3 separate regions of the Homo sapiens genome follow, and regions 1 and 3 are each linked to region 2. Evidence: promoter capture Hi-C in 16 types of primary human blood cells and fetal thymus (Javierre and others, 2016). All regions are on one chromosome and are shown on one strand. Each heading gives the region's core, a stretch centred on a gene start or on the middle of the fragment in contact. The rest is flanking DNA. Distances are from core to core; before and after follow the strand shown.

Region 1 (4,115 bases), core at 1,368-3,867, 270 kb before region 2:
TTTCAGATTTTGGAGAGTACGAGCAAAGCAAGGTAAAATTAAACAGCTTAAGTCAAAGTTTGTATGTGTGTGGTGTTTGTATATGCCTTTATTTTTTATTGTGGTAAAATATGCATAACAAAATTTACCATTTTAAAGTGTACAGTTCTATGGCATTCAAGTATGTTTATATCGTTTGTGCAACCATATATAGTTTTAAAAAATATGCATTGATCTGCTAGGACTGTCATAAAATACTACAGACTGGGTGGCTTACACAACAGAAATTTATTTTCTCACAGTTCTAGAGATGGGAAATTCAAGATTAGGGTGTTGGCAGGTTTTGTTTCTCCTGAGGCATCTCTCTTTTGCAGAGAGCCTGCCCTCTGTGTGTGCATACCTTGTATCTCTTAGAATGATACCAGTCAGGCTGGGCGTGGTGGCTCACGCCTGTAATCCCAGAACTTTGGGAAGCCAAAGCGGGTGGATCACTTGAGGTCAGGAGTTCGAGACCAGCCTAGCCAATATGGTGAAACCCTGTCTCTACTAAAAATAAAAATAAAAAATTAGCCAGGCATGGTGGTGTGTGCCTATAGTCCTAGCTACTTCGGAGGCTGAGGCACGAGAATCGCTTGAACCTGGGAGGCAGAGTTTGTAGTGAGCCTCTGTCTCCAAAAAAAAAAAAGACACCAGTCATATTGGGTAAAGGCCTCATAAGTTACCTTATTTAACTTGATTCCTGAAAGGCTCTCGCTCTAATATAAATTTCTGTTATGTAAGCCACCCAGTCTGTAGTATTTTATGACAGTCCTAGCAGACCAATGCAGTTCGTAACATCTTTTATATAGGGGTGCTTCCAGTTTATCTCCTTGAGAACTTGCTGTCTTCAGTGTATTAATTTCCTGTGGTTGCTCTAACAAATTACCACAAACTGGTTGGTGTAAAACAATAGAAATTAATTCTCTCACAGTTCTGGAGGCCAGAAGTTCAAAATCAGTATTATTGGGCCAAAATCAAGGTGATGGCAGGGCTTTGTTCCTTCTGGAGGGAGGCTGTAGAAGAGAATCCATTCCTTGCTTCTCCCTGATACTGGTGGGTGCTGGCATTCCTGGCTATGGCCCATGTCCTTCCAGTCTACGAAAGCAGCATTTTCAGTTCTCTCTGCCATGTCTTCTTCTTCTTCCTCTTTTTTGGAGACAGAGTCTTGCTCTGTTGCCTAGGCTGGATGCAGCGACGTGATCTTGGCTCATTGCAACCTCCGCTTCCTGAGTTCAAGCAAGATTATCCTGCCTCAGCCTCCTGAGTAGTTGGGACTACGGGCGCGTGCCACCACGCCCAGCTAACTTTTGTATTTTTAGTAGAGACGGGGTTTCACCATGTTGGCCAGGCTGGTTTCGAACTCCTGACCTCAGGTGATCTGCCCACCTTGGCCTCCCAAAGTGCTGGGATTACAGGTGTGAGCCACTGTGCCCGGCCTCTCCGCTTGTCTTCTCATTGCCTTCAGTGTGTGTCTCGTTCTTATAAGGATACATGTGATTGCACTGTGGTCCACCCAGATAATTCGGAATAATCCTCCCTCTCAAGATCCTTAATTTAATCATATCTACAAAGACTTCTTCTTTTTTTTTTTTTTTTTTTTGCCATATGAGGTAACATTGTCAGATTTCAGGGATCAGGGTGTGGAAGTCTTTTGTGGGGCAATAGTTCAGCTTATCCCACTCAGTCGTTTATAATAGACTTTTAATGTTCTTACTTTTATTTTATAGTTTAGTTTTTAACAGGCCCCCATGTCCACTTCTGGGTTGGTGGGAGATGATGGCATTGGGTGGCAGAGAAAATATCTCATCTTTTCTAGATACGATGCAGAAAATTCTAGGTCTGTGGTTCTAGGAAGGACAAATCAGAGATGATAGTTTGGAAATAAAACAGTTAAAGTAACCTAGCTTGAGAACAGAGGTAGGTGTGGTGGTGCTATTTTTTAAAGAATAGAGAATTTAGAAGAGTCACAAGCTAGTTTCAGGTATGGGGAGGAGGAGATATGTAGAGTGTGGGACATACTGAGTTTTCAGAAGTTCTGAAATATGGTAAAATTAGTAATGGTGGATATATTTTTGGCAAATGCATGTTCAGTGGATTGTTGGTGTAGAAGTCACTTTATACTAGATTAAAGATTAAATTGAAGATGGGGAGTATTGATACATTCTATTCTCTAGAATAATGATGCTTGGCATTTAGTAAGTAATCAGTGTTGGCTATTATGATAATTACTGTGGTTGCTCTAACAAATTACTTTGTTATATACTTTTATGTGTATATACTTTTATGTGTTCCAATACTATAACATTTTTGTCTTCAGCTGTTTGGTGTGTGTCTTGATATGTACATAATATTAAATAAATACTGATCTAGAAAGATGTGTGTTTTAGTAATTATTTTAATTATTGCCATTGCCATACTATTAAAATTAATGAAAACAATTTAGAATTTTTTTTAAAAAAAAGAATTAGTTTCAATTTCTCATTTGAATAGATTATTATTTCTCAAAAAAAGCAGTGAGGTTGGGGGGCACTTAGCAATAGTTTCCTAAAGATTAAAATGATGGTATTCTGGTTGAATGGTTTTTTTATGTTATATCAAGAAATATAATTTGGTTTGTGTTTTTTCATTTAAAATAATAGTGTATTGTAGCTATGGTTATTCATGCCTGAAACAAAAAATTAAACCTTGGTCATTGTGTGTATTTCTTTCAGGTTTGATTTAATTTTGGATGAGATCGTTCTTGCAGCAAGATGTTAATAAGACAAAATCTAGGTAAGTAGAAGACTGCTTTGTTAAATGTACATATCAAGGTAGGAATAATACAAAAAAATTATGTCTTAAAAATGTGGTGTTGAGTTCAGAACCAAAGAGTTTTTAAATAAAATTTTGAAATGCAAATAATTGACTTTTTGACACACTTGGTCCAGTTGATTTGATGGGAGTAAAATTATAACTATCACATTGTGGAACTAAATTTTTAGTTTCCTTCTTTTGTGTTGAGGTTAACTAAAGCATTCAAGTTTCCAGTGAATATTCTAAAATGTTAGAAAATCAAGTTAATGTTTGGTTCAGCCACTCTTATTGAACTCTGACCACTTCAGTAAGACATTTATTGTGTCACTTCATTGTTCTCTCCTTTGTTGATAAAGTATATGAATAGTCATTGCTTTTGTGAATTTTGCTTCATTTTTAATGTTAAGGAAGCACTTTCCCAAATGGGATAAATTTGCCAAATTGTGATTTCTTTCTGTTAATATAGTATTCAAAATTGTAAATTATTGTTTTAATGTTTTCCTAGTGGGTGTCTCTACTGAATGACCTCTCTAATATAGCATTCTGATTAGCTTTCTAAGGCTGTTCACTTTTAAAAAATTGAATTGGCATCATGTACTTTGGTATGTGAAAGAATGCTTTTTAATAATATAAGCCGTTGACATGTTTTAAAAAGATACATTTACTATTTATTGGTAAGTGAATATGGCTTCAAAATGGAAACAAGGGAAAAAGAACATTGAAAAAATTGGAGTTAACTTGGTTTTCCCTCTAACCAGATGTTTCAGCTGTCAAAAATTTGCTGATCTCAATGTTTGTTAAAGAAAAAAAAAGTCTAGGATGAAAAGTGCTGTAGTTCAGTAATATGCACTGAAGGAAATCTCAGTCAGTGGTTTGGGCATGTTTTGAAGCAAAATTTTGCTTTTATTGCTATTATATAATAATAACAGTAGTGGTAGTTTGAAGAGTACTTATTGTGCTCTAAATTCTGTTAAGTGCTTGTCATACCTTATTGATCGTTATAGTACCTCCTCTTGTTGTGTAGAAAAATTTTATTTTTTGCTTTATAGTGGGCTGTTTTTCTTTAGGAATAATAATTTACTTCTGTAGCATTTATTAGAAATAACACTTGCCTATGTATCTTCTTAAAGTGGAGAAGAAGCCATTCTTTTGTACTTGAAGGTCTTATTAGGGTTTGTTTTCTAGTTGAATATACAGTGTCTGTTAAAACTTTTGTTCTGATTTTCTATGTTTGATATTGCTTGTGGGATGACACTGGTTTAACTTATTCTGACCTTATTTTTCACCATGCTTATATATGTAGT
Region 2 (4,227 bases), core at 349-2,848:
GGGGGACAGAGGTGGACGGACTGCCGCGGGGCGCGGCAGGGGCGCGGGCTGCAGACCAGCCGCTATGGGTCCTGAGCCCCGCGCCCGCCCGACACCGCAGTGAACCGTGGCTGCCCTCGCCACCAGAGAACGCCTCGGGCATTAGCTCCCCCGTTCGGGAGAAAGCGTCTGGCCAGGCATTTTTTCCAGCTGGAGACCAGGCTGGTTCCCCAGCTTGGAGCCTCAGGCCTCGTCCTCCCCGAGAGCGCCTGGTGGACGCGGACCCGGCTGTGTCCCTCTCAGGGATCCGCCTCCCGCCGGGCTGAGCCCGAGCGCCTGGGTTCGTCGGGCGAGAAATCAGAGCCCAGAGCCGACCCGCCCGCTTATGCAAGGCTCCGGCGCCTGAAGTGACACACTTTTCTGTGGATTCCTTCAGGGATCTCCTTCCTCCGCTCTTAATGTCTTCGGACTATTCCCGCGCGCGTTTGGGGAGGCTGCGAGGGCCGCCGCGCTGGAGCCTAAAGGTAAGTCCCTTCCCGTCCTCTTCTCTCTCTCTTCTGACTTAAGAAAACGGGCGAATCCTTGCTACTTTTTTTTTTCTTTCTCCCCTTTGGTTCCCTTTCTCTGGTCTCCCTCTGATCTCTTCCTCCCTCTCCCTTTGCCTCGCACTCGTGATTGTGGACACCGGGACCACTGGACTCGGAGTTCGGCTCAGGGCTGCGGGCTCAGGGATGTGCGGGTTCTCAAAAGAGCAGCGGAGTCCGAGCCGAGTCCGCTGACGGGCTCACGAGCGCTGCGCCTATTGGCTCCCTGGCACGTCGGCGTCCCTCGCTCGCGCGGGCGCGGCCAATAGGGGCGCGGGGCCGGACGCGCGGCCTCGGTGGCGGGGGCGCGGGCCCGGCGCGGCGCGGCGCGGGGAGCGGCGGTAGTGGCCGTGACGTCACGGGAGGGGGTCGGCGCCGCCCGCCAGCAGCCGGATTACAAGCGAACGCGCCCGGCAGCGGCCGGAGTCGCCCGGCATCGCGTCTCCGCCGCTTCCTCCTTCTGTGCCTGCTCCTTCTCGTCGTCCTCCTCTTCCTCCTCCTCCTCGGGTTGCCGCAACCGCTGCGGCCGTGTCTGCCCCGCAACTTTCCAAGAAAGTTCAGAAACTCGGCTACGGGGCTGCCGAGTGGCGCGCGGCTGCCACCTCGGGAGCCGCGGGGGAGTTCCGAGGGCGCGCGGCCGCCCGGGCTTCGCGGTCGCTGCACCTGCCGCGTCCGCCGCCGCCACCGCTGCCGCCCGGTGCCAGGCTGTGGGCAGACCCCGGCAGCGGCGGCGGCGGCGGCTTTGGCGTAGCTTCCCGCCGCCTGCGCCTTCGCCTTCGCCTGCGCCTTCGCCTTCGCCTTCGCCTTCGCCTGGGTCCTCCGCGCCGCCACCGCCGCGCCACGTGCGCAGTCGTTCCTGGAGCGCAAGTTCCGAGTTTTCTCAGAAATTTTTTTAACTCCCCCCGCCCCCCGCATCTTTTTTCTTTCCACCCCTACTTTTTGCATAAAAGAAAAAAAGTTGTGTCGAAAGTATCCACAGATTGCCACTTCCCAATTACCCTTCCTTCTCTCCCCGCCCCACTTTTTTTTTTTTAAGCGGCGGCAACATTGTTTGGTGTTTATTTTGTTTTACGATCGATAGCTTTCTTCGCTGGTTCGGGGCGGCTGCTGAACGGCGGAGTGGCGTGGACCTCATGTAGCAATGACAATGGAAGGGGCCAGCGGGTCGAGTTTTGGAATAGACACGATTTTGTCCAGTGCCAGTTCAGGCAGCCCAGGCATGATGAATGGAGATTTCCGCCCGCTCGGTGAGGCCAGGACCGCGGATTTTAGGAGTCAGGCCACCCCATCTCCCTGTTCGGAGATTGATACCGTAGGGACGGCGCCTTCTTCTCCTATCTCAGTCACCATGGAGCCCCCGGAGCCGCATCTGGTAGCAGACGCGACCCAGCATCATCACCACCTCCACCACAGCCAGCAGCCGCCGCCGCCGGCCGCGGCCCCGACGCAAAGTTTGCAGCCTTTGCCCCAACAGCAGCAGCCGCTGCCGCCACAGCAGCCGCCGCCGCCGCCCCCCCAGCAGCTGGGCTCGGCCGCCTCGGCCCCCAGGACTTCCACGTCTTCTTTTTTAATTAAGGACATCTTGGGCGACAGCAAACCTCTGGCGGCATGTGCACCCTACAGCACCAGCGTATCCTCTCCCCACCACACCCCGAAGCAGGAGAGCAACGCAGTGCACGAGAGCTTCAGGCCAAAGCTCGAGCAGGAGGACAGCAAGACCAAACTCGACAAGCGGGAGGATTCCCAGAGCGACATCAAATGCCACGGTGAGTCCCGCCACCCGGCGCTCTCGGCCGTCTAGCTTGTCCTCCTGGTTCCCAATCTCCCCTTCAGCCTTCAGCAGATCTCTGCTGGGGAGCGATTCCAGGAGCTTCTCGGGCGACTGGGCGACGGTCAAAAGACTGCAGCTGAAGGGAGGCCTGGGCGTGCGATGTGGGGACTCCTCGAAGTTCTGTTTATTGTTCTACCCCACAACCTTCACGGCCATCCAGCTCCTTCCTTTGTTTTATTTAATTTTAATCTACTGGGGGTTGAGGGGCGGCGGAGGGCATCCGACAGGAAATACTTTTCGTTGATAAAAGGGATGGACTTGGGGTTTTTCTAGCCTAGACTTTGGGAATGGGAATGGGGGGAGGTAGGAGAGAGAAACCACTTAGCTAGCGTGGGTGTGATCACAACCTGGTGTTTATTCTTTAGTACAAGTGATTTCACCCCCCCCCCACTTTATTTTCTTAACATCATCACAGGAATTATCGGTTTTAATGGAGGAAAAATTTCTGAGTTCATGAACAGAGCAACTTTAAAAAAATTAGATTGTGGTTAGCCCGTAAAAATTTGTAATAAGTTTCTTAAAAGCACCCTTCTTACCCTATGGCCTCAACTGAGTATCTGTATCCTACAAAGATTTTTGGCCCCTTACAAGTACTTAGGAGGTAGTATTTATAAAAATAAAATCTTATGAAATTGGATTAATCTCTTTTTTGTTAAAAAAAAAATAAGATGACAATGGAAATTGTCCTTCAACTCCCTTTTTCCATTTTCTCATCAGACAATTTCATAAGTAAATGTGGTAGTCTTTGCATGGCAAAAGTTTTAACATACCAGGAGAGCTTTTTCTTCCTTTACAGACACATTGTTTATTATTATTGATCCTTGTTTTTCTGGTAAAGAAATGTACTGACTGGAAGGTAGGATGTTGGCTCCTCATTTTACTATTATAGCATTAGCATAATAGTGTCCAAAACAGATGTACAGTCTGGTCTGGCGATTTTTTGTGCACCAACCTCCCCAGTGGGTCAATTAGAGAGATTATTGTTCTTCCTGCAGGGAAGATCAAGGAGCACTGCACAAACGGGTACAAACAGGGAGGGATTGACATATCGATTTCCCAGCATTTCAGTAAAAAACCAAAGTTGACAAATAGAATCCGGAAATCTCCATGCTGTCACCTGGATGGGCTCAGTGATTTTGAGCTCAACTCGGTGTCTGGGTGACATATTCTTTGTGAAGCTTTAAAAGACCTGATGCAGGTGGCTTCAGAAAGCTTGATTCCAACATTTCCCAAGTGCATCTGAAAAAGTAAAACAAACACCTATAACTTTCAGAAAAGAGAAAAAAGTAAAATGAAAAAGATGCTGCCTCCTCAAAAAAAAAAAAAAAAAAAAAAGAGTAGAGGGACCCTTTGAAAAATCACCACATCAGTGAAACAAAGTCATACTGAAAACAATAAAGAAAAGGGACAGCATCTCTCTCAGTCAAGGAAACAATAACAAAATAACCCTTTTCAAAAGTTTTATTTAAAAAAATTTTTACTTTTTAACTTCCAACCATGTGAAGATCAGACACCCTTTTAGACCCCCTTTAGAAACTCTAAACAAGGTCCCATACTCTCCAGTCTGAAAACAATCCTCTTCCTCCACACTCAGGCTAAGGCGTGAGTGTGTGTGTGTTCTAGGGGTGGCAGAGTGCAGTCCCCCGAAGCCAGTAGTTGGCTTGGGAATGTGGAAGTGTATGCCAGGAGGACACTCAGTCCTTCCCCATTCCAGGCTAACTTACCACCGTGGCTGGGTTTCTATGGTAGGGACAAAGGAGGAAGGAGACCGGGAGATTACGAGTAGCCGTGAGAGTCCCCCTGTGAGAGCCAAGAAGCCTCGAAAAGCAAGGA
Region 3 (4,187 bases), core at 159-2,658, 420 kb before region 2:
ATTGGAAATTTCTTTAAAATTAATCAACTTACCATACAGTTCAGCAATTCCACTCTTAGATATTTACCAAAAAGAAAGGTGACCAGGAGCAGTGGTGCACACCTGTAATCTCAGCACTTTGGGAAGCCAAGGCAGAAGGATCACTTAAGGTCAGCAGTTCAAGACCAGTCTGGCCAACATGGTGAAACCCTGTGTCTACTAAGAATGCAAAAATTAGCTGGGCATGATGGTGTATGCCTGTTGTCCCAGCTACTTGGTGGCTAAGTCAGGAGAATCACTTGAACCCAGGAGGCAGAGGTTGCAGTGAGCTGAGATCATGCCACTGCACTCCAGCCTGGGCAACAGAGTGAGACTCTGTCTCAAAAAAAAAGAAAAAAGAAAAGAAATGAAATCATTTTTTCACCCAAAAACTTGTACACAGATGTTCATAGAAGCTTTATTTGCAATAGCAAAAAACTAGAAAAAATGCAAATGTACATGAACTTGTGAATGAATAAACGAATGTTGGCATATTCATATAAGGTAGTACCACTAAAAATTAGAAAGGAACAAACTGATAAATGCAAAAAGAGAAATGAATCTGAAAGCATTATGTTAAGTGAAAGAAACCAGACACAACAGGCAACATACTGACTCTAATTACATGAAAGAAGGTAGACGCTAGGGCCTAGAAGGTGATAACAGGGCATCAATTGCAAAGAAGCACAAGGAAAGTTTTCGGAGTTTTGAAACTGTTCTATACCATGACTGTGATGATTATGAGACTTTATTATTTATAAGCACTTGTCAAATTTCACACTTAAAATTGATGAATTTTATTATATGTAAATTATACATCAATAAATCTAATAGAAGAAGGTGAAGAAGGAAGAAGAAAAAGAAAAGGAGAAGGAGAGCAGGAACAACAACATCTAGAAGAGTTTCTCTACCTGAGTTTGGTAAAACTACTGTAATCAAGATGGTGTGATATAGGTGGGAAAAAAGATCAGTGGAACAGATTGCCTGGATTCCAGGAATTCACTTTTATCAGACGTGCCAAGGATAGTGGTCCATGTTATGGACCACTACGTGTTCATTTCTTTTATTTTTTTTTAAATTGGGGCAAGGGAGCAGGTGACCTAACTTAGTCATACCATCAACAAAAATAAAAGCCAACCAAATCTTCCTTACAAGAAGAATACACAGATGATAGTGACTATTCAGTTCCCCATTCAGGGATCCTGCACATCTAGAGCTGTTCTGGTATAGGTGTATGGTGCTGAGAACCCATCTGAGAATGAAGTCAGTTCATAGGGAGGCAGAGCTAACAAATGGTAGGAAGAACAGAACCTCTTCTGTTAATATTGGGCTCATGGAGCTAGTTATATCTGACCCAGATTGTCCTTGAACTGCCTAGTTATTTGAACTAATAAATTCCTTTTTCTGTCTAAGCAAATTTGAGTTGGGTTTCTGTTTCTTACAACAAAAGGAGTTCTGAATAATATATATGTGTACTATGAGGTAGTATTAGAAAAGCACTGGCTTATGCACATACTAAATGGGTGCCCTGGGGAGGTTCTTTTAAAGCTCTGGGCCCAGGTTTCTCATCTCTAAGTAGAAGTGATTGGAGTGGGACAATAGTTTCCCAGAAGAGTTGCACAAAACAAAGGCACCACAGTGACCTCAATAGGAAACGAGGGAGAAGCACAGTCTCTACCTAAGCTAGACTGGAAGTAAATCCTCCTTTAAAAAAGTTTTAGACGTTGGAATTACACAGTATGATGTGAAAAAAATTTCTTTGCTTAAAACAATGGCCGGGTGCAGTGCCTCACACCTGTAATCCCAGCACTTTGGGAGGCCAAGGAAGGTGGATCACCTGAGGTCAGGAGTTCGAGACCAGCCTGGCCAACATGGCAAAACCCTGTCTCTACTAAAAATACAAAAAATTAGCCAGGTGTGGTGTTGGATTCCTGTAATCCCAGCTACCCAGGAGGCTGAGGCAGGAGAATTGCTCGAACCCAGGAGGTGGAGGTTGCAGTGAGCCGAGATCACGCCATTGCACTCCAGCCTGGGCGGCAGAGAGAGACTCTGTCTCAAAAAAACCCCCAAAAAACCAAAACTTTTGTGGTCTTCTCTAATTCCAAAATTCCAATATTCTATGTTGCTTTCTCAGAGGCATGTAGCACTGAGCATTGTATTCTAACAAGTGAGGTTGCCTGGGGTCTGAATCCAGCTCCACCCCTTACTAACTGTGTGATCTTGAACAAGTTTCTCTATTCCTTGGCTTCTTCATCAGTAAAACAGGAAAAATAATACTATCTATTTCAAAGGTCTGTTATGAGGGTTGATTGGCAATATATCCAAAACCTTTCCAACCATGCCCGGCACCTGGTACAAGCTTGTTAATTGTTAGCAATGATGATGACAAAGAGAAGGCATTGAAGATTTCAGTGGAACTGACTTTGGGTTTGCCTTTGTCACCTCTCCCAAGGAGTAAGCTGGAAAAAGAACAGAAATGCAAATCAGGTCACCTGCTTGTTCCCTGTAATTGTGTCAATAGGTTGAGAGTAGGGAAAACCTCTGTCTCTGTTCTTTGTTTTCTGAATATAATTATCCTTTCAACTAAAGACTAACCTAAATAATATTTTTTGTAGGCCGGGCACGGTGGCTCACGCCTGTAATCTCCAACACTTGAGGAGGCCAAAGCAGGCAGATCACTTGAGGTCATGAGTTCAAGACTAGCCTGGCCAACATGGTGAAACCCCGTCTCTACTAAAAATACAAAAATTAGCTGGGCGTGGTGGCAAGTGCCTATAATTCCAGCTATACAGGAGGCTGAGGTAGGAGTGAGCCGAGATCGTGCCACTGCACTCCAGCCTGGGCGATAGCGCGAGACTCCATCTAAAAAAAAATATATATATGTATATATATATATATATATATATACACACGTGTGTGTGTGTTTTTATATATATGTGTGTGTATTTATATATATATATGTATGTGGCTTAAATAGCTTTTTTTCTGATTATTAATAGCATATAATACATTGATAAGTATTTGGAAATTTAAAAAGAAAATATTAAAACACATAATCCTACTGTGAACAGATAAATGCTCTTAACATTTTGATTATTTCCTATTTCAACTTGGTGTTATTTTCTTCCAGATTTTCTTTTAAAGCATTTTTTAAAATATATAAATGCATATTAAAAACTTTATTATGTATGTATATATATGCATATGCATTGTTTTATGTCCTTCTTTTCTCAAAGTTGTGTTGTAATTTTCCATGACATTAAATATTCTTTGAAACAACATTTTTATGACTTCTTAACATTCACCGTATCACTCTGTCATCATTTATTTGACAAGTTCCCTATATTTCGACCTTTTTGTTGCTTTAAGTTGGCTCTAGCATAAATAATGCTGTTATAAACATCCTTGGATAACAATCTTGAAACTTCTCTGATTAGGATCCCTAGGATACTATTCCTACAGGTAGAATGTCTAAGTTAAAGTATGTGATCATTTATAAGGTCTCTGGTACACATCATCAAATGGTCCTCCAGAAAGTGTGCACCAATTTACAACACTGACCAGCACTGTGGGAGTGTTTGCAAACAGCGATTTTTTATAAGTTATAAACAATTTTCATTATAGAAACTACAGTGGGAAAGCAACCTGCTGTATGTATTGCCCTTGTTTGAGACATTAGATCGAATTATTTTTTAAGAGTGTTTTCCTTTAAAGCTTATGAAACGAAGCTTTTAGGGCCCAATACAGATCACATATTTTTTTCTCTAGCCCTTAAAGTTTACTATGTTTTTAAAATTGTTCCTGTAGGATCATAAAAATGAGAAGCCCATCACATCACAGTGATTCAGTCTTTATAAGCCATGGTGCTTACTAACTAGAAAATGAAGAAAACATTTTTATGATTATTTTAATTACCACATATTACCCAGGCCTTTCTTGCCATGCTTCATGAAGGACAAACATCCTGTAATTTAAATAGTGTGGTCAAATGAATTCCCTGCCTCACACTAATGCTGACTTCACACTGGCCCTAGAACAATTAATGCTCTCTGGTTTAGATCAGTGGTCTGTGGTTCATTAAGCATGAACATTTGAATTTAAGTGTGAAAGACAATTTGAAAATATTCCTTACACGTCTTTTATTCAAGCCCTGGAAACTTCAAGTAGGA

What was found. The method cuts DNA at HindIII sites, captures the fragments that hold promoters and counts their contacts. A CHiCAGO score of 5 or more calls a contact.
Region 1: a fragment that was not itself captured here is called in contact with the fragment with the promoter of BARHL2 in region 2 in 1 of 17 cell types (megakaryocytes); the score reaches 5.4 in megakaryocytes.
Region 3: a fragment that was not itself captured here is called in contact with the fragment with the promoter of BARHL2 in region 2 in 1 of 17 cell types (non-activated CD4 T cells); the score reaches 5.1 in non-activated CD4 T cells.

Annotation. Positions count from the first base shown.
Region 1 is chr1:90,980,985-90,985,099 of GRCh38, reverse strand. ZNF644 (zinc finger protein 644) reads left to right here. Exons shown (of 6, transcript NM_201269.3): 2 at 2,730-2,790. The coding sequence starts at 2,747. Among named protein-coding and RNA genes, the nearest start is that of ZNF644, 39 kb to the left of the region's middle. The HindIII fragment of the contact is 5,838 bases long and covers 1-4,115 here.
Region 2 is chr1:90,714,673-90,718,899 of GRCh38, reverse strand. BARHL2 (BarH like homeobox 2) reads left to right here and starts at 1,598. Exons shown (of 3, transcript NM_020063.2): 1 at 1,598-2,329; 2 at 4,144-4,227. The coding sequence starts at 1,705. The HindIII fragment of the contact is 6,796 bases long and covers 1-3,574 here.
Region 3 is chr1:91,139,489-91,143,675 of GRCh38, reverse strand. No RefSeq gene overlaps it. Among named protein-coding and RNA genes, the nearest start is that of ZNF644, 120 kb to the right of the region's middle. The HindIII fragment of the contact is 1,943 bases long and covers 437-2,379 here.